Linked DNA regions of Homo sapiens: region 1 is linked to region 2. The links are contacts of gene promoters, found by promoter capture Hi-C in blood cells and fetal thymus (Javierre and others, 2016). All regions are on one chromosome and are shown on one strand. Each heading gives the region's core, a stretch centred on a gene start or on the middle of the fragment in contact. The rest is flanking DNA. Distances are from core to core; before and after follow the strand shown. Region 1 has its middle 11 kb from the start of KRT78. Region 2 holds the start of KRT1 (keratin 1).

Region 1 (2,700 bases), core at 178-2,677, 180 kb before region 2:
GTATTACAGGCGTGAGCCACCATGCCCAGCCTACTTTGGTCTTCTTAACTAGAGTCTACGTTTCCCAAGGGCAGGCATGAATCTGGTATTGTTCTGTGTTGCCCCAGCACCTGCAGCGCTGGGCCCTCCTGCCTGGCTGTGCCCAGCATGCCGCTGTTTGTGCCCCCGAGCCCAGCTCACTCCACCCTCCCTAGCCCCGACCAGCTGTGTCACTGTCATGACCCAGAAAAGGTGGTTACCTGGAGGAGGGACCTGTGGGTTTTCCTTTTGAGGAGTAGGTGGGCTTCAGGGAAGAGCACATCAGCGGGTTTAGGGATTAGATTAGATATTAAGAGAATTTCCTCTCCCTTCCAGGATAGATTGGGAGAGATGCCTCAGTTTCTTGTTTCCCTTTTCTAACTCTGCTTTTCATTACTTCTCTCCTTTGGAAAAGTTTCCCAGACTAAACCTCTATGTTCTATCCCCAAGTCCTGACACCTAACGCTGCTCCTGTTTCTGGTCTTATTTTCTTGGGTTTGTGTGTGTTTGGGTGTGGGTACCACTTCCTCTGTCAGGGAATTTCTGAAACTTTTTTTGAACAGTGATCTCTAATAATAAATTCATTTTATATTACAGTTCTGCATGCGCGCACACACACACACACCCCAAACAAAATTTCATGGTGCAATATTACCCTTACTACCTGTGATGCACACTCATGTGCTGGTAAAGACTCATGCAATTGATTTCACAATCCACTAGTGGGTTGTAGCTTGCAGTTTTGAAAATACAGATCTCCTCTCAGATGGAAGTTCCTTGAAGACGGGCAGAACCTTACTTCCAACACCCAGGGCACAGCACTCAGATGGCCATGGGAGAGATGCTGGCGAGATGGTTGAGTGGGAGGGAGCTGGTCCATGTAATCCCCCACCCTGTCTCCCAGTCCGGGAGTTCCTGCTGCAGCTTCGACTGAACATCCTCAGGGTGTAAGAATCTTGGCAACTTTCCCCTGGAAGTTGCTCTTCACCCTCTGGGGTATTGGGAGGCTGTCCTTAGTAACAGGCCTCATAATATTTGCCAAATCAGGAGCTGTTGCTAGCAGCAGGGCACCCAACTGGCTGAACCTGATTGGGTCAGGGTTGCAGTGGCTGGGTACTAAGCCCTGGATGGGTGTGTCTGGACTCTCAACTCAAGTTCTTGTCTGAACACTTCCCTCTTCCCCTCTCAGGGTCCCCCAGAGTTGGAAGCTTTGTCCAATCCCCTTCCTCTCTCAGGCACCAGCAGTTTGTTCCTGGATGTGTGTTCCTGACTCCCAGCCTGGGACAGTCTCCCTTTCTTCACCCCTGGCCCATGGTGTGCTGGGCCTGCTTGAGCAAACTCAGGAGACCTGATTGTGTGCATCTCTTCCCAGCTCTGCATTCAGTGACATCATGGTGGCAGCTTGAAATCAGCCATGGAATATTTGCACCACGGAAAATGGCAAACACTACAGAACAGACTTATCTTCCCTCCCTGACAGAGAGCCCCTTGTGTAACAATAACACGCCACTGCCCCATCCCTGAGCAGAGTGCTGTGTGTTGCAGCAGAGTGGGAGCGGGTGTCCTCTCCCTTGGGCTCTCCCCATAGCCCCCAGCACCAGGGAAGCTTCTGGTCTCTTTGTTATACAGGAAACATGTACATATACATACTACATGAAGGCTGTACAGTGTTCCTGGGAAGACTATTGGGGCGGTGTATGTTTAGAAGATCTGGGTTTTCATCCTAACTTGGCCTCTTTCCATCTTTGAGATCTTGGACAATTGCTTTATTTCTGTGTCTGTAGAGCAAGGAAAAATAATACCCACATCTCAGATTGTGGTGAAGATAAAAGAAGATGAAGGATCTGCACAGGCCCAGCACAGTGATTGGCACTCAGAGAGTTCTCAATAGTATTTTTATTTATTTATTTATTTGAGATGGAGTCTCACTCTGTTGCCCAGGCTGGAGTGCAGTGGCGTGATCTCTGCTCACTGCAACCTCCACCTCTGGGGTTCGAGTGATTCTCCTGCCTCAGCCTCCTGAATAGCTGGGATTAGAGGTATGCGCCATCACACCCAGCTAATTTTGTGTTTTTAGTAGAGATGGGGTTTCACCATGTTTGCCATGCTGGTCTTGAACTCCTGGTCTCAAGTGATCTGCCCTCTTTGGCCTCCCAAAGTGCTGGGATAACAGACGTGAACCACTGCGCCCGGCCCCCAATAGTATTTTTTAAAGTGTGTTGTAGAACATGATCATGTTAGCCACCATGGGTAAAAGGGCCATTATTATTCCAAAGTTTGGCATCATCCCTCACTCCCACCCTCAACTTGGAACTTGGAGACATATACTTCAGTTCTGGACTCCCAGGCAATGTTTTGCTAATCCTTTCTCTCCAGGGTTTCTGCCTTAGGAATGCCCTCCTTGTAGGTTTCGGGGCCTCTCTACCTGGGCATGGGGGAGCTGCAGAGGCAGCAGCTTGGCTTACCTGTGGGGCACCCTTTCCCTGTTGCAGTGAACCCATTGCCTGGGTGGGTGCCACTTTCCTTCACTGCCAGTTCAGTGAGGGGAGCGGGGGCTACCTGCTGCAGCCCAGCAGGCAGGAGGGTACCGGGGCAGAGAATGCAAGAGTGTGCTCTGCCTGGGTATGGGGTAGAGAAGGGGTGCACTCTGTAATCTGCTCCCTCCTTTCTCTCTTGCCTGAC
Region 2 (2,700 bases), core at 143-2,642:
TGAATTGAAGAAACATTTTCCAAGACTTGCATGTGCCAGGAGCCAAGGACTCAGAGTGATAAAACAGGCCTTCTGCCCTCAGAGCTCTCTGTGGTGGGGCGCTTCCTGTGCTGTCTGGCTTTACACACAGCAGGCAGAATGACTTGAATTCGGCTGCTGTGCTGTCGTACAACATGCTGTTTAGGATCTTGCACATGATAGCTAGGTATTCTTGCTTCAAATCGCAGGCACCCCACTTACCAACTGTGTAGACTTGATCACGTTATTCAACCCCTGTGTCTCTGCTTCCTCATTTTACAAATGGGGAGAAAAATAGCATCTATCTCAAAGTTGTGAAAATTAAGCAAGTTAATACATATGTGCTACGTAGAACAGTGCCTGGTACATGGTCAGTTTTTGATACATGTTAGGTATTATCATTATTATCACCTCCAGAAACAATTTAAACTTCTCATATAAGGCTCTCCAGACACCTCTCATTGTCTTCCCTTCCAAATCTGCATTTATCTCTCTCTCTTTGCAGTCCAGTGTGAGGCTTGAATCACCTATCAAGCCTCACCTCCACCCCTGTGCTTTACAAAATGTCCTAGAGCTTCTATTTACTCGTCTCACTGCTCTGTGGGCTTTTTCACTCAAGGGCGTTTGCATGCTATCCATTGCTACCTGTTTTCTATTGCTGGTGTCTGTCTCCTGCTCTATCTTTGAAGAAAAGAAACAAGAAAAGGAATAACTGAGAAACAGAGAAAAAAAATGTCTCTCCCTTCTGGTTCTTCCAGACCACCCACTCATCCATCTTGTTCAATGACAGCTTCTCTTCCTTTAATTAATCACTGTGGTATATTTATAAAGCTTATATTTATGAAAGACCTTTTAATTTTTTAGTTATTAAAGCCCTTTCTCTTTGTCAGGTTGTAACTGAGTGAGCTCTGGAGTTTGGAAAGAAGATCTTAGAAATGGGCCAGAGAGCTCCTTCTGAGATCCAAGCACGGGGAATTGCACCTGCTGTGCATGGTAAGAGAGTGTGCTTGGTAGCTCACAAAGGCAAGGTGAGAATAGAAACTTTCATGCCTTTTTGATGGGGGTTATGAAATCCTACCAAGAAACACCAGGTATCAGATGTGGGGTCCTGTTTTCCCAAAGCCACAAATGCTTGAAGGAAGATCTTGTGTGATAAAATAATTACCACATGAACCAATCTTGCATGCACAGCAATTTTGAGAGCCCATCCTGGGAGCTAGGTGTGTAGTGTTTATCGTATTGTTGAGGCTCGTAAAAATCTTGTATGGCTGCAGGCAAGCCAAACCCTTGACAGGCACTGCATCTCCGCTGACTCTAGAAGACCAAGCCCAATTTCTTCCCTGTATATAAGGGGAAGTCTCTATGCTTGGGGTAGAGGAGTGTTTAGCTCCTTCCCTTACTCTACCTTGCTCCTACTTTTCTCTAAGTCAACATGAGTCGACAGTTTAGTTCCAGGTCTGGGTACCGAAGTGGAGGGGGCTTCAGCTCTGGCTCTGCTGGGATCATCAACTACCAGCGCAGGACCACCAGCAGCTCCACACGCCGCAGTGGAGGAGGTGGTGGGAGATTTTCAAGCTGTGGTGGTGGTGGTGGTAGCTTTGGTGCTGGTGGTGGATTTGGAAGTCGGAGTCTTGTTAACCTTGGTGGCAGTAAAAGCATCTCCATAAGTGTGGCTAGAGGAGGTGGACGTGGTAGTGGCTTTGGTGGTGGTTATGGTGGTGGTGGCTTTGGTGGTGGTGGCTTTGGTGGTGGTGGCTTTGGTGGAGGTGGCATTGGGGGTGGTGGCTTTGGTGGTTTTGGCAGTGGTGGTGGTGGTTTTGGTGGAGGTGGCTTTGGGGGTGGTGGATATGGGGGTGGTTATGGTCCTGTCTGCCCTCCTGGTGGCATACAAGAAGTCACTATCAACCAGAGCCTTCTTCAGCCCCTCAATGTGGAGATTGACCCTGAGATCCAAAAGGTGAAGTCTCGAGAAAGGGAGCAAATCAAGTCACTCAACAACCAATTTGCCTCCTTCATTGACAAGGTGAGTTTCTCTCTCATTGCACTGGTAGGGCTGCCGCTGGTCCACTTGGGATTGGTGCAGTCAAAACACAGTAGGTTTGAACCTCAAGTTTCCATGTTTACATGATTAAAAGGATGTTTTGTGGAATGGTCTCCTAGGAGATATGTTAGATGTATGCTTGTGAATGGTGTTAATGACTCTCTCTTTGACAAAGGGTTCGTGGTCGACCTAAAGGTGGGTCAGTGTGACATTAACATTTAAGTGCTTTTTATTCAGCTCTTGAGCGGAATTGGGACTCATATCTGTTGAATGAAGATAATAGAAATGGGGCTAACTGAACTTTCCAGGGTGCAAGTGAGAACCCTGGAAAGGTCTTCCTAACCATAGAAAGGGAGTTGAGTGTGAACATAGTATAGAGTGTTATTGTAGCAGAAAACATGTGGTCAGTCAGTGCCAAACATCTTTTGCTGTCAGAGGGGAGCTCTGCCTTCTAATAATTTTACATTGGTACTGGATGAGGCTAGAGTTTTTTTATACTAATATCTCCAAAAATCAGCTCTAAAAAACTCAGATAAACCATTTTTTTAATTTTTTGCTTAATCATTAATAGTGCCAATCCAAGGTTATCCACAACAAATTTCAAATCCAATTTTGAATTTTCCTGATATACTTTTGAAATG

Evidence for each region. The method cuts DNA at HindIII sites, captures the fragments that hold promoters and counts their contacts. A CHiCAGO score of 5 or more calls a contact.
Region 1: a fragment that was not itself captured here is called in contact with the fragment with the promoter of KRT1 in region 2 in 6 of 17 cell types (total CD4 T cells, naive CD4 T cells, naive CD8 T cells and 3 more); the score reaches 9.2 in total CD4 T cells.

The regions. Positions count from the first base shown.
Region 1 is chr12:52,858,656-52,861,355 of GRCh38, reverse strand. No RefSeq gene overlaps it. Among named protein-coding and RNA genes, the nearest start is that of KRT78, 11 kb to the right of the region's middle. The HindIII fragment of the contact is 398 bases long and covers 1,229-1,626 here.
Region 2 is chr12:52,679,099-52,681,798 of GRCh38, reverse strand. It overlaps KRT1 (keratin 1), which reads left to right and starts at 1,392. Exons shown (of 9, transcript NM_006121.4): 1 at 1,392-2,041. The coding sequence starts at 1,451. The HindIII fragment of the contact is 12,025 bases long and covers 852-2,700 here.